Linked DNA regions of Homo sapiens: region 2 is linked to region 1. The links are contacts of gene promoters, found by promoter capture Hi-C in human tissues and cell types (Jung and others, 2019). All regions are on one chromosome and are shown on one strand. The core of a region is centred on a gene start or on the middle of the fragment in contact, and the rest is flanking DNA. Distances in the headings are between cores, read along the strand shown. Region 1 holds the start of MVD (mevalonate diphosphate decarboxylase). Region 2 overlaps ACSF3 (acyl-CoA synthetase family member 3).

Evidence for each region. The method cuts DNA at HindIII sites, captures the fragments that hold promoters and counts their contacts. A contact is called where the count stands out against the background at its distance.
Region 2: a contact is called between a fragment that was not itself captured here and the fragment with the promoter of MVD in region 1, in 1 of the 25 tissues and cell types used here (mesenchymal stem cells).

Annotation. Positions count from the first base shown.
Region 1 is chr16:88,661,736-88,667,682 of GRCh38, forward strand. It overlaps MVD (mevalonate diphosphate decarboxylase), which reads right to left and starts at 1,356. Exons shown (of 10, transcript NM_002461.3): 1 at 1,276-1,356. The coding sequence starts at 1,345. SNAI3-AS1 (SNAI3 antisense RNA 1) reads left to right here and starts at 1,638. Exons shown (of 4, transcript NR_024399.1): 1 at 1,638-1,665. RefSeq lists silencers at 1,101-1,520, 1,861-2,020 and an enhancer at 1,601-1,650. The HindIII fragment of the contact is 7,255 bases long and covers 1-4,548 here.
Region 2 is chr16:89,112,437-89,118,084 of GRCh38, forward strand. ACSF3 (acyl-CoA synthetase family member 3) reads left to right here. Exons shown (of 11, transcript NM_001243279.3): 6 at 1,903-2,051. Among named protein-coding and RNA genes, the nearest start is that of ACSF3, 21 kb to the left of the region's middle. RefSeq lists enhancers at 1,531-2,730, 1,930-2,029 and a silencer at 2,125-2,419. The HindIII fragment of the contact is 3,135 bases long and covers 1,182-4,316 here.

The sequences.
Region 1 (5,947 bases), core at 106-2,605:
TGAAAAACAGCAACTCCACCAAATGCTGGTGAGGATGCGGAAAATCTGCATCACCGTAGGGATGCAAAATGGCCCAGCCACTCTGAAAAACAATTAGACAGTTTCTTTAAAAAAAAAAAGTATATATATAATATATATATGTATATATACACACACATACATCTATATAGGTGTATACATATACACACACATATATCTATACAGGTGTATATATATATACACACACACAAACATACATATATACATAGAAAGAGAGAGAGAGACAGAGAGGCATATATATATATCTACCATCTGACCCAGCAACCGCACTCCTGGGCATTTATCCCAGAAGAATGGAAATGTATGTTCACACAAAAACCTGTATACAACATTTTATGGCAGCTTTATTGGTAAGGGAAACACAAAAAAATTAGCCAGTCGTGGTGGCGGCTTCTGGAAAGAAAAGAAAGAAAGAAAGAAAACGTTAGATGCTCTTTGCGGGGTGAGGCCTTGGCTAGAGAGAGGGTGGTCCATGGATTCCACGGACTGGCTCAGCAACAGAGGGGCAAAGCACTGATACAATCCCGGGGCACGTCCACATTCTATGCTGAATGAAATAAGCCAAACTCAAAAGATACTGGGTGGGCCACATAACTGCGATTCCAGTTTCAGAACATTTTGAAATGACGTTACAGAAATGAGTGGTCAGTGGCGGCCAGGTAACCCCGGCGCGAGGGGAGGGGCGGGGCTGTGAACGCACAGGTGCGGACCGGCCTCCCCGGCACGGATGTGGGCCTGCGGGCCCCCCATTACCGCTCCTTGGAGGTTACCGCTGGGAGAAACGGGGCGAGGGAGGGACACAGGGTCTCGGGCTGGGGGAGCAGTGGCGCGATTTCCGCTCACTGCAGCCTCGACCTCCCGGGCTCTGGCCATCCTCCCGCCTCAGCCTCCCGAGTAGCTGGAGCCACAAACGCGCACCACCACGGCGGATTCTTACGATTCATGGGAATCGATGATTGATGATTTCGATAGTTCGGTAATCGCTAATGGGCAGGCGCCGGGCGACCCTGCAGGGGCGGCAGCCGTCGCGGGGGAACGGGTGGCGCCGAGCTTGTCACGCGAAGGAGCGCGCGGCCCCGCCCGACCACCGCCGCGCCCCTCCCTGAGCCTCAGTTTCCCCGTCTGTCGAGGCCCTGGGAGGGCAGGACGGAGCGCGCCGCCGAATCAGCGCGCGACCCCCGCGTACCCGGCCTCGCTCCCGGCCATCCCCGTCCCAGGCCGGCCCGCGGCACTCACAGTACTTGATGACCGCGATGTTGACCGGCGCTGTACAAGTGACTGCCGCCAGCGGCTTCTCCGAGGCCATGGTCCCACCGCGCAGTGACCCCAGCTCCACAGCCACTTACGGCCCGCGATCCCACCCCAGAGGCCTCTGCCTCCTCACGCGCTACCACAGGATTGGCCCGTGCGAGCCCGGCTGCTCGCGCGCCGACCAATCAGCGGCGAGTCGGGCGCACGCATTACCTCTCAGCCAATGGACGGGATCGGACGATGGGTTGCTGACGTAGGTCCGCCCCACCCGCAGGGTGCGCTCGCCAGGCCTGGGGCGTGGTGTTGTCTGCGCAGGCGCCGTGTGCCCAGGCGCCTGGCGTCCGCGTCGGCGATCCGGGGTCTGGGCGCGGCGAGGTGGGCGCTGTTGCCTGTGGGGGCTACCTGTCTGCTGGTGCTGTGCGGGCTTGTGCGGGGCTGTGCGGCAGCTGTGTGGGGCCCGTGAGGAGCTGTGCGGGGGGCTGTGCGAAGGGCTGTGTGAGGCGCTGTGCTGGGGGCTGTGCGGAGACCTTGAGGCGCTGTGCGGGGTCCGTGAGGCTCTGTGTGGGGCGCCGTGTGGGAGACTCTGCGGGGGCCGTAAAGGGTCCGTGAGGCGCTGTGTGCGGGTTGTGAGGCGCTGTGCGGGGACCATGAAGGGGCCGTGGGGCGCTGTGCGGGTGCCGTGGGGCGCTGTGTGGGAGGGAGGCTGTGCGGGGCCGTGGGACGGTGTGCGGGGCTGAGGGGAGGGCGGGTCGCGCTGTGCCCTCCTTGAAGCTCTTGGACGGCCCCGCTGGGTATGGGGGTGCACACAGGCCCGAGGGCAGGCGCTGGAGGATGTATCCCGGGATCCACTCTTAACCCGGCAGCCGAAGGCACCCTGTCCCGCCGCCCACAGCCTTCTCCGCGCCATGTCCTGGGCCAGGATCCCCCGCCACGGGGCTCACACGAAAGACCCCGGGGCGGGGAAGCCCCGCAGCCCGGAGCTGGGTCCAACCTGCATTAAGGTGGGCGTCTCAAATACCCCCTGTAAGGCCCTGTAGGAGCAAAGCCTTGGACTGGGTTGCGGCGCTTGTGTGTGCATTGACTTCTCCTGTGAAACGTACAGGAACATTTAAGCGTGCCGTTCCCTGCCATTCATTCCAATCATGTGCCACGCCCCCACTATTTCTAGAGTTTTCTCACCCCAAACAGAAACTCTGTCCCCTTAAAACAATGACTTCCCATTTTCCCCTTCCCCTTTTAAAATTTTACCTTTAGTTTTTAAATAGCTCAGATTGGCTGGGCATGGTGGCTCACACCTGTAATCCCAGCACTTTGGGAGGCCGAGGTGGGCGGATCACGAGGTCAGGAGTTTGAGACCAGCCTGGCCAACATGGTGAAACCCTGTCTCTACTAAAAATACAATAATTAGGTGGGCGTGTGGTGCACGCCTGTAATCCCAGCTACTGGGGAGGCTGAGGCAGGACAATTGCTTGAACTCAGGAGGCGGAAGTTGCAGTGAGCCGAGATGGTGCTGCTGTACTCCAGCCAGGGTGACAGAGCAAGACTCCATCTCAAAAAAAAAAAAAAAAAAAAAAAAAACTCAGATTTCGGAAAATAGGGGAGTATGCAGTGTGAAGTGTCCACTCTGCCTAGCCACCTACTTCTATTACCAGAACCATCATACTTATAAATTCTTTATTTTTTTCCAGAAATAGAAAAAAAGTCTGTTTTTTTTCTCACTCTGTTGCTCAGGCTGGAGGGCAGTGGTACGATCAAAGCTCCATGCAGCCTCGACCTCCTGGCTCAAGGGATCTTCCCACCTCAGTTTCCTCAGTAGTTGGGACTACAGGTACACACCACCATGCCCGGCTAATTTTTTTCTTAATTTTTTTGTAGAGATGTGGGGGGGTCTTGCTATGTTGCCCAGGCTGATTTGAAGTCCTGGCCTCAGGGAACCCTCCCATCTCAGTCTTCCAAAGTACTGGGATTAGGTGTGAGCCACTCCACCTGGCCTGTCAATTCTTTGTGTATTTTTTCATTGACGTGCATAGTACAAGCACATAGCGTGTTCTCCCACCTTGCTTTTTCTACGTACCTTCTTCTTAGAGATCATCCCAATTTAGTAAAAAGCTTCCTTGTTTGTTGTCTAAATATACCTGGTCTGTCCTAGTTGGGTTGTTACTATAAACAGTGCTTTCCTACGTTGTTTGTGCACATGTATTTCTGCAGGAGAAATTCCTGGAAGTGGAATTGCTGGGCCAAGTGGGATGTGCCTGAGTACTTTTGATAGCTGTTGGCAAGTCGCCCTTTGTGGAAGTCAATTGATTACTCAGGTCTCTCTGCGGAAGTCTGAGAGTGCCTGCATGCCTTCACCAGCACAGTGGGTCACCTGCCAGAGTGACATGTGTTGTCTCACTGTTTTCAATTTGCATTTCAGATGGTGGTTATTTTTAATTTCTCTTGCAATCACAGCTGCTTTTCCATTTTATGCAAAGCCACTAAATCCTATTGAAGAGCTGATGTGGACTGTCTCGGCCTATAGTCAGGGTGTATTCCCTCAGCTACTCAGAGAGAGTGGGGCTTCCAGTCACCTCCTTCCTTCTGCCACGGCTGTGATGAAAAAGAAGACACAGGCTTGGTGCTTTGGGAGGCCAAGGAGGGCAGATTGTTTAAGTCCAGTAGAAAAAAAAACAATTTATTTTTGTTTAGAGACAGGGTCTCACTCTGTTGTCCAGGCTGGAGTGCGATGGCACCATCAGCTCACAGCAGCCTCAACCTCCTGGGCTCAGGTGATCCTCCCACTTCAGCCTCCCAAGTAGCTGTGATAAGTGCCACCACTCCTGACTAATTTTTATTTTTTATTTTGTAGAGATGGAGGTCTTACTGTGTTGCCCAGGCTGCTCTTTTTTTTTTTTTTAGACAGAGTCTCGCTGTGTCACCCAGGCTGGAGTGCAGGGGGGCAATCATAGCTCACTGCAACTTCTGCCTCCTGGTTTCAAGTGATTCTCATGCCTCAGCCTCCCAAGTAGCTGGGATTACAAGCGTGCACCAGCAGGCCCGGCAAATTTTTGTATTTTTAGTAGAGACGGGGTTTCGCCATGTTTGGCCAGGCTGGTCTCAGACTCCTTGCCTCAAGTGATACGCCTGCCTCGGCCTCCCAAAGCACTGGGATTACAGGCGTGAGCCACCATGCCTGGCGTTTTTATTATTATTATTTTTTTTTTTTTTTTTGAGACAGAGTCTCGGTCTGTCACCCAGGCTGGAGTGCAGTGGCGTGATCTCGGCTCACTGCAACCTCCGCCTCCCACGTTCACGCCATTCTCCTGCCTCAGCCTCCCAAGTAGCTGGGACTACAGGCGCCCACCACCACGACCGGCTACTTTTTTTTGTTATTTTTAGTAGAGACGGGGTTTCACTGTGTTAGCCAGGATGGTCTCGATCTCCTGACCTTGTGATCCGCCCGCCTCAGCCTCCCAAAGTGCTGCGATTGCAGGCGTGAGCCACTGTGCCTGGCCCTATTTTTTTAAGTTTTAGATAACCTCTATTGATTATGACTCAATAGAAATAAGGAATTCTCTTCCATCTCCCAGTCACATACCTTCTTATCCTATCCCTCCATCAGCATTCCTTATTTTCATTATTACAATTATCTAAGTTATACTCACAGTTGAGCCATGTAGCAATGGGTGCCGACAGTGTGCTTGTGGGCAGACTCCCTTATTGAGTGGAGAACTAGGATAAACTACCTCCCTGAAAGATGTCACACATCGATCCCCACCCTGACGCCTGTAGCCCAGCTCTCCTGAACCTCAGCCTGTATGTGTGTCGAAAATAGGCCAAGCATGGTGGTCCATGCCTGTAAGCCCAGCAGCACTTTGGGATTTGGGAGGACTGCTTGAGGCCTGGAGTTCAAGACCAGTCTGGGCAACATAGCGAGACTCCACCATATCCACAAAAAAAAAATTTTTTTTTTTTTTTTTTTTAAGACACAGTCTTGTTCCATTGCCCAGGCTGGAGTGCAGTGGTGCAATCTCGGCTCACTGCAACCTCCGCCTCCCAGGCTCACTGCAACGTCCGCCTCCCAGGCTCACTGCAACCTCCGCCTCCCAGGCTCAAGTGATTCTCCTGCCTCAGCCTCCCAAGTAGTTGGGACTCCAGGTGTGTACCACCACACCCAGCTAATTTTTTTGTATTTTTAGTAGAGACGGGGTTTCACCATGTTAGCCAGGATGGTCATGGTCTCGATCTCCTGACCTCGTGATCCACCCGCCTAGGCCTCCCAAAGTGCTGGGATTACAGACATGAGCCACCGCATCCAGCCTACAAAAAAATTTTTTCAAAATTAGCTGGCCGTAGTGGTGCACACCTGTACTCCCAGCTACTAGAGAGGCTAAAGCAGGATGATCGCTTGAGCCCAGGAGTTCAAAGCTTCAGTGAGCTCTGATCACACCACCGCACCTGAGCCACAGGCATGGGTGCTTTGCTGAGTATGGTATGGGTAGGCTGTGTGTGGCACTGATTCATGAGGGGAGAGGGTCTGGGAGATGAATGGGAAGCCAGACAGCTGGAGCCCGTGGGTGGGCCCTGACTGGTGTTGGGGCAAGGAGGGGAAGCCCAGCCAGGGCTGAGCATGTCCTGCCTGGTTCCAGGCCTGCAGCCCTGGGGGTTTGGCCTGGAC
Region 2 (5,648 bases), core at 1,499-3,998, 450 kb after region 1:
TGTATATCTGTAATCTCTTCCACGTCGATAGCTGCCTGGATTCTGTATCGCTCTCTCTGTCACACTCTGTCTCTCTATCTCTCTCTGTCTCTCTTTGTCTCTCTCTCTCCATCTCTCCATCTATCTGTCTTCTCTGTCTCTCTTGTCAGACTCTCCATCTCTGTCTTCTCTCTGTCTCTCTCCATCGCTCTTCATCTGTCTCTCCGTCTTCTCTTTCTCTATCTCTCCTGTCTCTCCATCTGTCTCTATCTCTCCATCTGTCTTTGTCTCCGTCTGTCTGTCTGCTCTCTCTCCTGTCCGTCTCTCTCTCTCTCTGTCATGGCGTCTGAAGGACAAGGGTGAGGACAGTGAGCTGACCCGCTTGCTCCTGCTTCATCTGCCCACATGTCCCACGGCGCCTGCCTCTCCTATGCAGTCTCTCTGCCTTCGTGGGCAGCCCTGTGAGGCCTCCTGCCTGGGGCACGTTCTGCTGCTTTTCCTCTCAGCCCCGCTCCTCCCCTCCCAGCTCCCTGGATAAACCCCTCCCTCCCAGGACAAGCTGGTCTTTTGGGCCACCCAGGGGCGTGTTTGCTCTGCACTCTCCCATGAACCTGCAGGCGTGGGAACGTTTCTTTTCCCTCGTGGCTGTTGAGGTGTGGTTCACTAACTGGAAACGCACACGTGTGGCTCAGTGAGTCTTCACACGCATCACAGGCCCGCACCTCCAGCAGAGTCGTGGGTGGGGTATTTTTTCTTTTTGTGAGAGGGAGGGGTGGCGTGGAGGGTGCACTGCAGGAACTGAAGGCTCCACTGCCATCCAGTTTCCAGTGGGATGTGTGTGTCTGTGGCTGCCGCGCGCTCCTCCCAGTCCCCAGGAAGTGCACAGGGAAGCGGCACCTTTGTTCCTGGAGAGAATTCCGGGTTGTCCAAGGCACATGTCTGAACCGCTTCGCTCTCTTTGCCGTTCCCTTGCCCCTTTTCTGTGAGGCCACCGGAGCCCATGGTTTTGCTGCTGCTACTGCTGGGATACCCTGGGGCTGGGCAGGCCCCAAGCTGAGCAGGGTGAGCACAACGTTTTACCAAATCTAAGGAACCAAGGGCAAGAACGAGGTCAGTGAAGGAGAGGATCAGGTGATTTCTGGGGTGACAGAGGCAATGAGACCTCGGCCATCTGGATCTCCCAGCGGGGGTCCTGTCAGTGGTGCCTCCTCGTAAAGCAGGGGCAGCAGCAGGGACCACTCCGCTCAGACCGCAAACAAAAGCGCCTTCCCTACTGCCCGTGAGGCTGCGGGAAATGCTGTGTGAGAGCGCGGGGACTCGGAGTTCTCAGGGCCCGTGTTCTCCTGCCAAGCCTGAGCTGACCCTGTGGGCCAAGATGGCTGCAGTTCTGCGGGTGGTTCTGAGCCCCTTGGGTGTGCCCGGCCCCACCCCTTGGGTGCCGCGGCCATTCACCCATGTCCGCGTTCTGCTGCAGAGCCTGCAAGCTGAGCCGGCTGTAGTCCCCGGATGTGCCTGGCCGCAGCCTGCAGCGCCGTGGCTGTTCACCCGTGATCAGCTCCGTGGTCGGCAGCTGCACGGTCACTGCTGTTCTTGAGCGTGGTTGTGAACAGCGCAGGAACTTTGCAGGGGACACCGCGGACCCTAAGCACATTGTTTACCCTCATTAGCTGTTGGACCTGCTTCCTTCTAAAATACACCCAACAGATCGTTTTCAAAAAACAAAGTCACGCCGTAGCGCAGACTGCAGCGTTGGTCCCGGGTGTCGCACAGTGGTGCTGTACCCACGGCCTGGGGCTCCTGCACTCGTGAAGGAGCTGCCACTTTTGCAAGCAAGGGCCGCCTCCTGAGGGGCTAAACCTGCCACCTTTGCACGCGAGAGCCACGTCCCAAGGGGCTAAACCTGCCTTTGGTTGTGCCGCGTAGGCTGATGGTCTCAGGCTCAGCTGCCCTGCCCCTCCCAGTGCTGGAGAAGTGGAAGAACATCACGGGCCACACCCTGCTGGAGCGGTATGGCATGACCGAGATCGGCATGGCTCTGTCCGGGCCCCTGACCACTGCCGTGCGCCTGCCAGGTACGAGCACTTCCCACAGCTGCGTTCCTCTTCCACTGTGCTCTGAGCCCCCCAAGGTGGGCCAGTCTCGAACCACCCACATTCGGACTGAAGGGCGGCATGGAGGATGCTCCCCCGTGGGACAGGCCACTCGGCCAGGAGAGCACTCAGGATGCACTGCGACCTGTCCCCTCTGGGTAGATCAGCCTTCTCCCAAGTCTCAGTCGGGTGGATGGGGGAGGTGTCTGTGCTGGCCCCTGGCTGTATGACTGGGGAGACAATGGGAAGAACAGCAATGCCTGGAATGCAGGCGTCAGTGCATGTCTCAGAGGAAGGCGGGGGGCCATGCTGTTGGCTCCAGACCACATCAGCAGTGGTGGCAGCCTCCGTCTGTCTGGAGTCCGGGTGCCACACAGCGCCAGCAGCAGTGCCAGGAGAGGTGGGTGTGGTGGGCAGGGTGGGATGAGTCAAGCACCTGTCTTCCTTCTCTAGATGTGGGCTCCTGATACCGGGCCCCTCTTGTCCAGCCTTCCCTAACACATCCCATTCTGACTTTCATCTGACCCAACCATTTGAGCCCTGGGTCCTCCGCTGGGACTTCTGGGAACAGAGCCCACAGCTGGGGGGCCACCCTGCTGCTTTCTGCGCAGCCCTTCCAGTCTGTCTAGAGTAGAAGAGAGATCTCAGTGCAGACTTAAAGTGAGACCATCCCGCACATCTGTCTGTGCAGCTGCTTACCTGCAGACCCAGTAAAAATTCACCCCTCTGGCGTGCAGCTCTGTGTGTCTTAAGAAACATCATCACAGTCAAAATAGAGAAGGGTTCCTCGCCTCAGAAACTCCCTTCCTAGTGCTCAGCACCTCCTCCACCCCCGAGGCCTGGCCCCTTGTTCCTGTTTCTCTTCTTGTGGTTTTGCTTTTTCTGGGAGGCCACGTGGCTAAATCCTGCAGGACGTGGCCTCTGAGCCTGTCTGCTTCCGCCCGGCTTCCGCCCACAGTCAACTGCCTGTGCTGTGTGCGTCAGAGCCCGCGCCTTTCCCTGCTGAGTGGCATCCGTGGTGTGGGTGCGGCACCGCTTGTGACCCTGTTTTAAGCAATGACACGTGAGATGTTATCAACATTTGTGTGCAGGTTTCTGTGCGAACGTGGTTTTTTATTTCACCTGGGCAGATACCTAGGAGAGAGATTGCTGTGTTGTCTGAAGCTTTCAAGCTGTTCTCCAGAGCGGCTACACCATCCCCTTCCCCCTGCAATGGGTGGGAGGTCACGAGCACCTGCTGCTCCAGCGGGCGGTGGTGGTGTCTCGTTGAGTTCATGATTCTCTCATGATGGGTGGCGTTGAGCACCTCTTCCTGTTCGTGTCATTCCGTTTTCAACTGGGGCCTTTGTTTTCTTGAGTTTTGAGAGCTTTTAAAATTCGGGACCCAAGTGTCAGCTGTGCGATTTTAAATATCATCTCCCAGCTTGTGGTTTGTCTTCCCATTCACCTAACAGCGTCTTTAAAATCAGGAGTTTTAGGTTTTGGCCCGGTTTATCAATTTGTTTTGTGAATTGTCTGATGTCATATCTAATAAATCCTTGCGTAGCCCAAAGTCACAGAGAATAGTTTCAGCTCTTACGTTTGGGACCATGATCCATTTTGAGTTAATGTTTGTACATAGTGCGAGATACGGACCACAGTTCTTTTTTAGTGTGTGAATGTCTAACTTTTTAGCACTGTTCGTTGAAAAGACTCCCTTCTCCATCGAACAGCCCTTTGGATCTTTGTTGAAAGTCCGTCGACTCCTGAGGGGTCGGCTCCTGGGCTCTGCTCTGTCCCATTGCTTTCCGTGTGCCCTTTGGCTCATTCCATGCCTGCTTGGTTCCTGGGACTCTAGGGTAAGCGTGGACATGGGGGTTCAGGCCCAGGCAGGGACCAGCTGGTGCCAGGCAGCGATACGGTGCTGGGGCCTGCAAGGTGAGTGTGAGGGCTGGCTGGCTGCTGGGCTGGGAGGAGGAGAGACTGTAGGCTCACGCCCCTTTGCTGGGCCTGGGGAGCCATGGGGGCTGTTAAGTGTATTCTGAGTGTAAAGTCTCGGTTTGGCTGGGGCATCCTGAGCAGAATGACAGGGCCATGGCAGCGAGATCCTCAGCTGCCGTGCAGAGCTGCCAGTGGGGTGGCCGCACAGAGTGCAGTGCCTGCTGCAACAGTGCCCAGGGCAGTGGGCGGGTGGGGGCATGTTGTGAAAAGAAGTCAGTGTGAGTGATGAGAAATACATCCTAGTCTCAGACCCCAGGAAACCGCCGTCAGTGCTGGTGGCCCCTGCCCTGGGCCGGCTCCCGCGTTAGTCTCAGACCCCAGGAAACCTCCACCTCCGTCAGTGCTAGCGGCCCCTGCTCTGGGCTGACTCGCGCATCTCCACGATGGCTGCGGCACCAGCTGTTTCTTCGGTGGCTAAAGCTCTCTGGTGGAAATAAGATGGGGACCTTGAAATCAAATGTGACTGGTCTGTTGAGTCTCTGTCCTTATCGTTGTCCTTCTTAGTAGGATGTGCTGGTTTTGTCCAGTGCCACCGGCCACAGTCACCACGTAATATGGACGGAATGAGCAAAGCCCGGCTCGCTGAGGCTGCAGGCTGCAGGCAAGTGAGGACTGAAAGGGTAACGGGCTCTGGGCTTTGTCCTCTCTTTGTTCCGGACATGTGAGCAGGACAAGTTCTGTGTATTCAGAATCTGTCTGCACAGTTTGTAGTTCATGATGACTGTTCATCCACAGCATTGCTTTGTGGGCGTCCTCTCTTTTGATCTTCTCGAAACAGCCCCTGCGATGGGGTCATATTTTGCACTCACATACAAGAACCCATGAGCCTGCCCACGGTCACGCGGCTGGTGAGTGATGCACTTCCCAGGAGCACGGTGACCTCTTCAATGGCCCTCACTAGAGAAGATGGACAGTGCCCCCCTAGCCTTTTTTACTGGAACAGATACAAGGCTGAGAAGCTGAAATCAGGAGCAGCCCAGGGACCACTGTCTACACCGAGGGAGTCATGAGCAGCCCAGGGACCACTGTCTACACCCAGGGAGTCAGGAGCAGCCCGGGGACTGCTGTCTACACCGAGGATGTCAGGAGCAGCCCAGGGACCACTGTCTACACTGAGAGCGTCAGGAGCAGCCCAGGGACCGCCGTCCACACCAAGAGCGCCAAGGAGCAGCCCAGGGACCGCCGTCCACACCGAGGGCGCCAAGGAGCAGATAGTAGCCCAGAGACCCAGGGGAGGCTCAGCTTCCCCACGCTGGAATCAGAACTCCTAGGCGAACAGGAAGGAGCCCCAGACAGATGGCACAGGGAGAGGAGTCCCCGGCTGAGGAGGGGGATCCAGAGACCCTGAAGCTTCAGGGTTATTGGGCAAGAAACCTGAGTGCACCAATCCCCGAGTCTTCAGCTACCGACGGCAGGTTCCCTCGGGTGCCGGGGATGCTCCCTCTTCTCTAAGGCAGAGCCCACAGTAGGTTCCCTCAGGCGCCAAGGACATTCCCTCTTCTCTAAGGCAGAGCCCACAGCAGGTTCCCTCAGGCGCCAGGGACGTTCCCTCTTCTCTAAGGCAGAGCCCACGGCAGGTTCCCTCGGGCGCCGGGGACG